2 separate regions of the Homo sapiens genome follow, and region 1 is linked to region 2. The links are contacts of gene promoters, found by promoter capture Hi-C in human tissues and cell types (Jung and others, 2019). All regions are on one chromosome and are shown on one strand. Each heading gives the region's core, a stretch centred on a gene start or on the middle of the fragment in contact. The rest is flanking DNA. Distances are from core to core; before and after follow the strand shown.

What was found. The method cuts DNA at HindIII sites, captures the fragments that hold promoters and counts their contacts. A contact is called where the count stands out against the background at its distance.
Region 1: a contact is called between a fragment that was not itself captured here and the fragment with the promoter of DCTN2 in region 2, in 2 of the 25 tissues and cell types used here (bladder and heart left ventricle).

The regions. Positions count from the first base shown.
Region 1 is chr12:57,659,069-57,665,696 of GRCh38, reverse strand. No RefSeq gene overlaps it. Among named protein-coding and RNA genes, the nearest start is that of B4GALNT1, 29 kb to the right of the region's middle. The HindIII fragment of the contact is 6,741 bases long and covers 1-5,233 here.
Region 2 is chr12:57,543,470-57,549,636 of GRCh38, reverse strand. DCTN2 (dynactin subunit 2) reads left to right here and starts at 2,445. Exons shown (of 14, transcript NM_001261413.2): 1 at 2,445-2,609; 2 at 3,541-3,609. The coding sequence starts at 2,574. RefSeq lists an enhancer at 2,177-2,316. The HindIII fragment of the contact is 16,785 bases long and covers 1-6,167 here.

The sequences.
Region 1 (6,628 bases), core at 614-3,113, 120 kb before region 2:
GGGCGGCAGGGCAGAGGCGCTCCTCACTTCCCAGACAATGGGTGGCCGGGCAGAGGCGCTCCTCACTTCCCAGACAGGGCGGCCGGGCAGAGGCGCTCCTCACTTCCCAGATGAGGCGGGCGGGCAGAGGTGCTCCTGACTTCCTAGACGGGGTGGTGGCCAGGCAGAGGCTCTCCTCACATCCCAGACGATGGGCAGCCGGGCAGAGGTGCTCCCCACTTCCCAGACAGGGCGGCTGGGCAGAGGCACTTCCCACTTCCCAGACGGGGTGGCCAGGCAGAGGCACTCCCCACTTCCCAGATGGGGCGGCCAGGCAGAGATGATCCTCACTTCCCAGACGGGGCAGTTGCCGGGCAGAGGCGCTCCTCACTTCCCAGATGGGGCGGCGGCCAGGCAGAGGCGCTCCCCACCTCCCAGAGGGGGTGGTGGCCGGGCAGAGGTGCTCCTCACTTCCTAGATGGGGCGGCCAGGCAGAAGTGCTCCTCACCTCCCAGACGATGGGCAGCCGGGCAGAGGCACTCCTCACTTCCCAGACAGGGCAGCTGGGCAGAGGCGCTCCTCACTTCCCAGACGAGGTGGCCGGGCAGAGGCGCTCCTCACTTCCTAGACGGGGTGGCGGCCAGGCAGAGGCGCTCCTCACATCCCAGATGATGGGCAGCCAGGCAGAGGCGCTCCCCACTTCCCAGACAGGGCGGCCAGGAAGAGGCGCTCCTCACATCCCAGACGGGGCAGCCGGGCAGAGGTGCTCCTCACATCCCAGACGATGGGTGGCCAGGCAGAGATGCTCCTCACTTCCTAGATGGGGTGGCGGCCGGGCAGAGGCTGTAATCTTAGCACTTTGGGAGGCCAAGGCAGGCAGCTGGGAGGTGGAGGTTGTAGCGAGCCAAGATCACGCCACTGCACTCCAGCCTGGGCAACATTGAGCACTGAGTGAGTGAGACTCCGTCTGCAATCCCAGCACCTCAGGAGGCCGAGGTGGGCAGATCACTCGCGGTCAGGAGCTGGAGACCAGCCCAGCCAACACAGTGAAACCCCATCTCCACCAAAAATACAAAAACCAGTCAGGCATGGCGGCATGTGCCTGCAATCCCAGGCACTCGGTAGGCCGAGACAGGAGAGTCACGGGAGCCCAATGTAGGGAGGTTGCAGTGAGCCGAGATCACGGCAGTACAGTCCAGCCTCGGCAACAGAGGGAGACCGTCGAAAGAAAGGAAGGAAGGAAGAAGGAAAGAAAGGAAGGAAGGAAGGAAGGAAGGCTCTTTCAACTTTTGTCATTCCAGTTGAAGAGAGACCATTTGGCGTTCTAGAGATGGCTACATGCAAACATTTAAAACCTTTGAGAGAATACAGTGCACCAGGGAGACTGTTACTATGAGTATGGGGAGGCCATACCCCAAGAGTTTGGTGTATGTTCCTTACCCAGGGTCCCCATAAACCAAACCACCTAAAATTAAATAGATTAATGAATGAGCTAGCTAGAGTCTACTCACTTAACTAAGTGGTCTTTGCATTAATCCCCTACAACTGAATTTTTATAATTTACATTTGATATATTTCTCCATAGGCCACAAATATCAGCAGCTGCACAGGTACTTTTCTGTTTAGCCAATTCTATTATTTAGCATAACTTTCACAAGAGAATTTAAAGTCTGTTGTGTAACAATAGCCTTTAAAGTATAATTTGCTGTAGAGCCTATTATGAGGGAGACATTTCTAATTATTGCCTCTCTTATTCTAAACCATGGAAAAAGGACCGAACAAATGATGTCCTTCTAGAAGAGTGAAGGCCTTCTGTCAATGTTCTCTTTAATCCATGATATGGGTTAAGAGGAGTTTTGACTGATTTTGAGGCAATGTATGTATCACTAAAGTTTCTCACCTACATTGGGCCTTCATCTTTTATCTATTAAAGTGTAAGTTTATTCATGTATAAGGCTGGCTGCAAAATCCTTCACAAAGAAAAGCATACCCTGTAAGAGCACATAATAGACCCCCTTTTCATTTCTATTGTTCATAGAGGCATAAACAAGAAAAAAAATTCAAATATAAGAGTCTCATGATAGTAGAAGTTTTGATCCGTGATCTTGTGGAAAAGCTGTTCACATCAAGGATGCCATCTTCTTCTGGGGAGAAACTTTCCTGATTAGTTTTACCTTAAGGGTTCCAACAGGTGTACAGTTGCAGGAGTGTGGAGGGACCCTTCTCAGTTGTGAGATTATAAACCCAAGGTTCGAGGCTCCAAAGTTTTTCTGTAGTGTGGATGGCAAAGACGGCCTTTCTCTGATGTTCTCAGAAGATCCAATCTTCAGGTTCTAGATTGTGAAGGGACTGTCCTCAGTGAACCATAAAAAGCTTTCTTTACCTGGTTAAAATACACTGTAGCATAATAATCTACTGCTATAAGATCAGCCCTCTTGCATGGAAAAGCTTTTATACACCAGAAAACATGCATTGAAAATGACAATTGAGTGAAATTCCTTTATAAATGTTTAAATGGCCCATCAGGTAGCCAAATGTACCTGAAGCTTTGATTGTCTTCCTGGGAATATGGAACCAAACATTGGTTTTAAACTATTTCCTTAATTTATAAGTCACCACATTAATATATTCAATTTGGATTATTTTATCTTTTCCATGACCAGTCATGGAATGAAAAACCTTTAATAACAAAAGCTTTAAGGATTCAGGAAGGACAAGGCAGCTGTCCTGGTTCTTAGTGAGACCATGCTTAACATATGTCCTCTGGAATACCAGTTGTTTTCCAATTTAGGTGCATAGAACTGATAACTAATGGGTTATCATAGGTAATTTGACTTAGACCATGGAGTTCATTCAAATTGTACATTTAAACAATTTTAGTGTTGGCTGATTTAGCATGATAATCTAGAGCTTGATTTTGAAAGATTTGTTAAATACCAAAGGTTTAAAACATTGGCTGTTACAAAATAGACTCTCAGATTACCATAAGTCACTCATTTAGCCAAAATGATAACTCGAAAATTTTTTAGGCCAGGCATCATGGCTCATGCCTGTAATCCCACCACCTTGGGGAGGCCCACCACTTTGGATCATTTGAGGTCAGGAGTTCAAGACCAGCCTGGCCAACATGGTGAAACTCCGCCTGTACTAAAAAGACAGAAATTAGCCATGCATGGTGGCAGGTGCCTGCAGCCTCAGCTACTCGGGAGGCTGAGGCAGGAGAATCACTTGAACCCAGGAGGCGGAGGTTGGAGTGAGCCAGGACCACACCACTGCACTCCAGTGAGACTCTGTCTCAAAAAAAAAAATTTTTTAAGGAAAAAACATTATTCTGATAAAGAGGAGACTCAGCTTTCAAAACAAGACCCAGTGAAGACGAAGATAGCATGAGGACAACTGATTCTGTCTCCTTTCTTTCCTTTCCCCCACTTTTTCCTTTTATAGTTTACTTAAAAGGTAAACAAAAACCTTTCATTATCTTTTAATATTACATAAAAATCCTTTTTAAAATAGAAAACCAAATTTTTTGTTTCCATTCATGTTATTTTTAATGTTAAAGCTAGTTTTTAAAAACATTTTATAAATCTATTCAGTTTTAATTAGTTTGACTATAAGGTAAGATTTATATAAACATTTTATAACACTTTACAGTATTTTTTTCTCAGAGCAGAACAATGTTCTAATGAAACTCTGTTGCGCTTCTATTCCAATGTCCAATTTATGGGGAAAAAAACTAAATAATGCCATTTTAACTTTAGCCAATATGTTCACACATAGAATCTGTTAATTTTTATAAACCTTTTACAACTTGTTCAAACCTTTAGCTTTATTTAATTTAAACAATCCTTTAACCCTCTAACCTAGGCAAAACTTTACATTCCCATACTTTCTTATAATCTCGTACAAAAACACATTTTATTCTCCCTACACATCTTGTATGTAAACTTATTTTTTCAGTAGTCTCAATTACATATTACGATGTTAACTCCTAGTAATTTTACTTTTGGTGAAAACCTTGGTAAGTAAGGGATTTTAATTATGTACTAGGTGTGGAGCCTAGGACCCAGACAGAAATGCAGATAAGGTCTGACTCTTTCCAGCATTTAACTCCATGTGTCCCGGGCCTCACCTAGCTGTAAAGCAGGCAAGCTGTACAGTTAAGAGTCATAGCGGCGTTTCATGAAGCATTTAGGAGGCCAAACCACCTTTAAATTGTACAACATTTTTGGCATAAATTTCTGTTCATAAATTCTTTCACAACTTACACAGACCATGTACAACATGTTTAGACTTTATGACTTGCACTAAACATCCCTCTTTTAAACAACCAGTCATTTTACTTTAGGACAAGAATTTACCATACAACATCCTTTCTTATATAAAATCTCCTTTCTTTATGACCTTCCTTGCATAGCTAGGGGGCATGGCTAATTCCATGTATCCCCATGCCTTATTTAGAATTTAATGTCTTCAAAATATATTGAACAATTTTCAAAAGTCAAAGCAGTTTATGACCTTAAAGCCTTTAGCAAACCTAATATCTGACCTGCATGATTTAGACAAAATGTTTTTATTTTATCAATAATCTTTAAAGCTATTTTTATTTGCCAAAGATTACTAAAGTTACATGAACTAAAAGGCATTACAGTTTTTATTTTGCTTTTAAGAGCTTATTTTTGTTTAAACCAATTAATAGAGCTCTTTTATATAAGCGTTACACACAACCCATATATAGTTACACAGAAAGACAGACAGAAGATTACTACAGTAGTTGTAAGATTTTTCATTTGCCAGTTTTTAAGTTTCTCAATTGGTTATTGGCTTTAGGGTGGAGCCCTTGGAAAAACAGAGCCAGGAAAGGGGTTTCTGGTGCCTCCTGTTTTTCCCAAGGAGTCCAGGATATTAGAGCTTGAATATCTGCTTTTAATTAAGCTGACTTTTAATCATAGCACTTTTAATGAAGTCCATTTAAAATTTCCTATTACCTAATTTTAGCCAGGCTAAATGGCCGATATTTCTGGCTTTTGAAATTTACCAGAGGTAACCTCCCAAGTGCTCAGAGAAAGGAAAATTTTTTTGAGGCAGAGTCTCACTCTGTCACCAGGCTGCAGTGCAGTGGAGCGATCTTGGCTGCAACCTCTGCCTCCTGGGTTCAAGCGATTCTCCTGCCTCACCCTCCTGAGTAGCTGGGACTACTGCTGTGTGCCACCATGCCCAGCTAATTTTTGTATTTTTAGTAGAGATGAGGTTTCACCATGTTGGTCAGGATGGCCTCAAACTCCTGACCTCGTGATCCACCTGCCTTGGCCTCCCAAAGTGCTGGGATTACAGGCATGAGCCACCACACTAGGCCAGAGAAAGGAAAATTTAAGATAGTCCATGGAGAAGAGACTAGACAAAGTTATGCAGATATTAAACCAGAAATGACTTACTTCCTAAAGAGGGAATCAAACCTGGACTGCCAGCGTGAAATGCCAAAACACTAGCTATTGAGCTACAGAACAGGGTAGTCTCTGCTGCCCTTCCCAGAAGAAGTCTAGAGTAGTTAATTTTGAGCTTGCAAAGCCTTTTATCTACTCAAGATAATTTTTAGAGCAACCTATGACATAAACCCTAAAATTCCTGTTCCCTGGAAGGCAGAGACCAAGAGAAAGTACTGCCACATGGTTATAAGGTCAAGCACCCAAGGACATAAAACAAGATGGAGACCCCATCCAGTAGTTTGTTTGTTTGTTTCAGGGACAGGCAGGAAAGTTTGTTATCAACCAGCTTGCTGGGTCATCTTGGGCAGCGAGTTTATGGGGCCCTAAGCCCACGTTTTATCCTAAGGTACCCCTCAACACAGAAAAACAAGTTCATAGCACAAATACATCAGTATGAGACTGGCCTCAGAATTCTTTTTTGCATTAATCACAACTTTACAGAGGAGTAAACAGTGATTTTTACCATTCATTCAACTGTTCGCACAGAGAGAGAGAAACCAGAAATCTGACTGGTAAGAAATTCTTACCCTTGGCTGGGTGTGGTGGCTCATGCCTGTAATCTCAGCACTTTGGGAGGCCGAGGCGGGCAGATCATGAGGTCAGGAGTTCAAGACCAGCCTGGCCAACATAGTGAAACCCCGTCTCTGCTACGAATACAAAAATTAGCCAGGTGTGGTGGCACACACCTGTACTCCCAGCTACTCGGGGGGCTGAGGCAGGAGAATCGCTTGAACCTGGGAGGCAGAGGTTGCAGTGAGCTGAGATCATGCCACTGCCCTTGTAAAAGAGCGAGACTTTGACTCAAAAAAAAAAAAGAAAAAAATTCTTACCCTTTTGCCAGCATGCCAGGCTTCTGGGTTCCTTTTCCCTGAGTGGCCCCAGTGACCCAGCTTGCCGCATCATCACGCTGGGGGCCAAGCTGCATCATAAAGGAAAATTATCTTTTTTGGTTCTGACCAGAGTAAAATATGTGTAATAAAACATAGACATTGGCCACTCTTCTTATCACCCAATATCAAACTGATAAGCCTTAAATTTGCCCTCACATGGGCCCCTTCATCTTTAATCCAACCTCCGACTAGGAGTTTGGATTAAACTAGAGACACGTGGTCTCTGGGCAAGATGGTTGCCCTGAGTAACAGAAAAGATAAAAAAGGGAAAGGAGA
Region 2 (6,167 bases), core at 1,196-3,695:
CCATCCCATGCCCCACATGCACGGAAGCTGGACTCCCAACCCACTCAGCTTTCTGGGGGGACCCCTGCCTGTACTCCTATGAAGTTGGGTGTCGTGGGAGGTTCTGGCTACTCCCTTCCCCTTCCACATCCAAAGGTGCACTATACTGTCTCCCCAACGTACACACCAGGTCCCCAGTTTCAGGGAAGATAAACTCCCATTCTGGGTTATGGGAATTCAAAAGCAGATACAATACTTATTTTTGTGTCCTAGGCTGAGGATGGGAGGAAGATGGGTGGGAAACATCTTTGCAAGAGAAAGGGAGTCAGAAAGCAGTGAAGGAGGGGCAATGATGGGGATGGGTAAGGCCAGAGAGACTTTGAAGTCTGAGGCAAAGCCGGCATTTGGGTTTCAGGCAAATTCAGATACCTACGGGAGTGTGTGTTTTCTGTCTCAGTAACCATTGGAGGATAGAGTCCCAATACTTCAGCCCCCTTCCCTGGCCAAAAAAAAAAAGGTGTGGGGGAAGAAAAACGAAAGAAATGCCAAGCCCAGAGATTCCTTGTCCTTCCTTCCTTTGGGTCAGACTCCTGCTGCAGCCCCTGGAAAGAACCACCAAGAAGCTGGCCAAATTGATTTTTCTCCATGTCACAGGCCTCTGCTGGCCAACAGAGAGTTGGACTGCAGGAGTTGAGGTTCTAGGCAAAGAGGAAGGGCAGGGTGGATGGGAGAAGGAGGAGGAAAGGAAAGTTCTGCTCAGCAACTGTCTGGTGAGTGGTTAAGGTCACTTAAGACACTATGGGACAAAAGTAAGAGGCTGATAGCCTGGCCAGACAAGACCTAACTATTCAGAACTCAGGGGGTTTCCCACATTGGGGCTACACCTCTAACCTACCTTGAATCTTAAGGGAACTGAAAGAAAAGAGTCCAACATAAGGAATGGGACAGGAAAGCTGTAGGACTATGGAGAAAGGGATAGAGGCTTGGGGAGGAGCCAGGAGAAAGAAAGACAACGAGTTCCGAACTCAGGAACTCTCTAGTCACTTGGTTTGGCACAATTTCTAAGTGTTGCAGCATCCTGCAAGCTCAGGAAACATCCTGGGAAACATCCCATCCTTGGGTCCCCAGGGGCTCCAAGGTGGCATCTTTAGTAAAGGGGTTTCAAAATGCCAGTCCATGGAGGGTCACTGGTCAGAGACAAAAGTTCACTGAGTATGCCCTCACCTCCAAAAGAACAATGGTGAGTTTTTTTTTAATATAAAGATGGATTTGATAAGTTTCAAAGGACTATCTTTTATTCTGAGTGTGTCCTTCTTGCTTTTCTACCAAGTAATGATGGTGACAGTAAATAATAGGTTTTCTATTTGTAATATACTTACTTGATAAAATAAAAAGGCAAATCTTCAAGGTTTGTAGTTGTTTTAATTTTATTGAACGATGAAATTTAAAAGTCTGAGAACGGAAGGTAAGGTTGGTGAATAGGTACAAAAAATTAGAAAGTATAATAAGACCTACTATTTGATGGCACAATAGGGTGACTATAGTCAAGAATAACTCAACTGTACATTTTAAAATAACTTAAAGAGTAATTGGATTATTTGTAACTTAAAGGATAAATGCTTGAGAGGATGGATACCCTCTTCTCCATGATGTGCTTATTTCACATTGCATGCCTGTATCAAAATATCTCATGTGTCCCATAAATACATACACCTACTGTGTACCCACAAAATTGAAAAAATTGAAAAATAAATAAAAGTCTGAGAACTATTAACGAAGTAGTTAAGAGCCCAGAGAGTGTTCAGACAGACATGGAGACACCACTTACCTACTTATGAACTTCAGATAGAATTGCCAGATTTGAAAAACAAAAAACAAAAACAGGATGCCCAGTTAAATGTGAATTTCAGATACTTAATTTTTGGGGGGTTAGTATACCCACACACCACACACCACACACACACACCTACTTATTATCTGAAATTCAAATTATCTGAAAGCCCTTACTTGAGAAGATTGCCTAACTTTTTCATTCCTAACATACACTACGCGTTTACTAAATTTTACTTCTTGTTTTTATTTTGTTTTTATAATACACAGTATCAAGCAAACTTCTTGTTTTTGAAACCCCGGCTGTGTCACAGTATGACTACCTGTATCATTTAATCTAGTCATTTTATTCCTGGGAGCCCCAAACAGGAATTATAAATGTTCTTTCACTGACTTGCTGTAAAAGTGAGAGAAAAGGCTGTATGAAATAGCTCCCCAAGGTTCGTTATTGTCGCTCCCCGCCCAAGCTCCAGTACACCAAAACTACACATCCCACAATCCTAGGCGGCGTCCCCTGGCCATTACCTCATTCCCTGGCCTCGTTCTCCCCAATCCCGGCCTCTCCAGGGGTGTGGCAGCAGGGCTGTTCTCGCGACTTTTGCTTTACCCTTCTGCTGTGCTACTGCTGTCGCGAGACTTCCTGCTCATCTGCCGCTCCCTTTGCCGCCGCCTTAGCCCGGGACCCGAACCCAGCCTCTCCCCTACCCGAACACCGGCCCCGGCTCCACCGAGGCCCGGGTCCCCCAGCCCGTCTCGCCGCCGCCATGGCGGACCCTAAATACGCCGACCTTCCCGGCATTGTGAGTACAGGACCGGCCCCGGCTCCCCAGGACCGCGCCCCCGACCTCCCAAGGACCCCCAGCAGAAACCAGCCCGCGACCCCTCCCGCCTGCAGCCCATCCTCCGCCCAAGGGCTCCCGCCGCTCGTTCTCCGATCGGCCTCAGCACCCCCCGAACTCTTCTGACCCGACTGGGCCGGGCCGCCGGACGGCGCACCAGGCCCCCTTTCCGGCAGTCGCCGGTAGCTCGGCCCAGAAATCGACTCCGGGTACTGACCTCTTGTGCCTGAGTTTTTCCACCATCCGTGTCAACGCCTCCCATGTCCCCCCCAAATCTCTCCATAAGACCCCATCGCTACCCCAGACACACACACCAGACCACTTAACGATGGCCTTCATCCTGCCAAGGAAGAGGTTCTGCCATCTGGCAGAACCCTCTTGTGCCAGATGGGGAGCTCTATCCTTGAGGGAACCTATGCCCTCCCCCAGCCCCCACTCCCATGACAATCCTGGCGTGTACCTTCCTTTTGTGCTGCCCTGCCTGCTTCTCAAGGTGAGGGTTGGGACACAGGACCTTGAGTACTAAGGTCCTGAGTCACTCTCAATCCTTGTGCCAGGGTGGTGGTGTACGGGGCCTAATTGGAGGATAGCCTTCACCTTCTTTGGCAATAGTGATTGCCAAGGACCTGCCCGCCTCTAGATTTAGGGTAACATCGTTGCTATCACTTACACTCACCGTTTACTGTCAGGTCCCAATTGTTTCCGCTGTCATCCCTACCCCTTGAGACATGGGAACTGACATACTGTTGACTCACGGGGCAGGTGGAGGAGAAAGGACAGAACCCTGACATCACACCCCGCCTTCTCTGTTAGCTTATTCAAATGGAGTGGGGGAAGGGGTGTTGTTGGATGCTGGGTAGTGAGGTTGGGTGGTCACTGCTTCTACCTGCAGGCCAGGAATGAGCCAGATGTTTATGAAACTAGCGACCTACCTGAGGATGATCAAGCGGAGTTCGATGCGGTAAGAATGTGTGCTGCCACAGACTCCTCCGGACTCTGACCTTTCTCCCCTAGACAGGTCCTTCCCTTTCTCGGGGGAGCTACAGCAATAAGCGGGTATGCCAACCCCAGCCTGGGTGGTATATAGGTTGCAGGGCTTGCAAAGACCTTGCTGGGCTTGCAGCCACCAATGAGCAATGGCAGGAGGGAGAGTCAAGTCAGCGGAATTACAGCTAACAACATCTGTTTGCAAAGCCCTGATTCTTGGGCCTTTTAAATAAAATTGAAATATCTCAAAACAGGTTTGGAGCTAGTGACTTAGGCCCCTGGGTTCTAACCCATGGAAATGAATCATGAAGCCTGGGCACTTGTAATAAACTGCTACCAAGAACTAGACTTTGAAATATGGAGAAATACTTTTTCCATATGAATATCCAGTATCCATTGGGCAAGGAATTAAGAAAGTGATTCCAAGATTTTAGAGCAAAACAAATTTGAGGAAGAATGTAAATATTTCACATCAGCGGATGTGAGACTGTGGTTGCATTTTTAGATCCGAGAATTCTGAGGATGGAGTAATTAGGTACGGATACATTTTAACTGTGAGGGGAAACATTTAGTATGGTTTATTGAGTGTGTTCATTCTGTGGTTTTTTTTGTGCAATGCAGAGGAAGAAATGTCTCTGCCCCCAATGAGCCCCAGACTAATGGGGAATTAGGATACATATAGGAAACATATAGAAGGAAAAAAAAATTGAGTGAATGGAAATCAACATAGTAAAAACTCTGTTTAAGTGCCAAGAGGTGTGTTTATAGGATGTGTTTTAGGTTCTATTATTTCTGAAGACAGCTGGGCTGGGATCACATTGATGATGTGAGTTCTCAGTAAAGATGTGTCCAAGAGTCATTGCAATATGCAGGCTCAGTATGCTTGTCTGTAAGTCCTGTGGCTATGTCTGTGGGGCTGGTTAATTCTGGGGAATGCTGACTGCTGGCTTACAATGTGTGGCTTGGCGTACTCACTTATTTCTTATTTGACTCCCCCATGTGGAAGTGGTTCTTACATTGTGGGAAACACCTTCTCTGTCCCTTCTCCCAGTGGTGTGTTCCTTGTGGCTTCTGTATTTGCTGGCATGCCAATCTATCCCCTAAGCTTGAGTATCTTGGAGATAATGCAGATGATGTTGTTGCTCAAGGACCTGGGTGTGCACCTGTCACTCCAAGAGGCATCTTATAGGAAGCTGCCTCTGTCCTCACAGAATAGGAGTGTATACAATCGGTTCTCTGTATTTATGGGTTCCAAACCCATGGATTCAACCAATCACAAATGGAAAATATTTTTTAAAAATAAAAAATAGGCCCAGTGTGGTGATTCATGCCTGTAATCCCAGCACTTTGGGAGGCTGAGGCAGGTGGATCATTTGAGGCCAGGAGTTTGAGACCCCGTCTCTACTAAAAAATATAAAAATTAGCAAGGCGTGGTGGCGAGCGCTTATAGTCCCAGCTACTGTGGAGGCTGAGGCAGGAGAATTGCTTGAACCTGGGAGGTGGAGGTTGCAGTGAGCCGAGATTGCGCCACTGCACCCCAGCCTGGGTGACAGAGCAAGACTCCATCTCAAAAAAAAAAAAACCAGTACAACAATAAAAAAAAAAACAAAATTTAAAAATACAATATAACAACTATTTACATAGCATTTACATTGTACTAGGTATTTTAAGTAATCTAGAGATGATTCAAAGTATACAGGAGGGTGTAGGTAGGTTATATGCAGTTACTATGCCAATTTATATAGAAGATGGGAACATATGCAGATTTTGGTATCAAGGGAGGTCCTGGAACCAGTCTCCCACAGTTGCCAAGAGACAGCTGTATGCTGAGAACTTTACTGCACTACCACAGTTCAGACTGTTCAACTTAGGCCTAGGCTTCTGCCCTTCATGGTGAGATAATGAATAGAACTCAGTCCTTTTGTCGCTGTGATACAAACAGGTAGTTTCACAGTAATCCTCTTTCTAAACAAAAAAATACATATTGTCATTCCCTTTTGAAGATACTGGGATATCTCTTAATAAAAAGGAGATGACACCCATTCCAGGTGTGGAAGAACCTGACTGTGCAGCTCTGATTGGCTGTTTCTCCCCCAGAGCCTGAACAGCCTATTTTAGTAGCATCTAGTGGGGTGGCTGATGAGGAGAGGATACTGTGAGTGTTCATTTCCTGTGGCATGTTGCCCAGGATGCCAGTATAGAAGTGCATATGAGCTGAATGGCAAATACAAGAAGAGCTGAATTGTTTCTGTCACCTAAGGCTCAGCTAAGTGACTCTCTGTCACTAGGGAGGAATGGGGTGGGCAGACCTTCAGCCACTTCAGGGGCCCGAAGAGCCAAGATGTTTCCTGATGTCAGCTAATGTCTCTGGCCCCCGCATGTCCCTATGGGGCTTGCAGCTTTTGGGAAGTCAGCTGAGTAATGGCTCTGCCACTGCTTTTAATACTGACGTAAATATGCAATTTGAGGAGCAGTGAATTGTATGCTTAGATAATCTAGAAATGTCATGTCCGTGAGGCCTGGGATCTCACC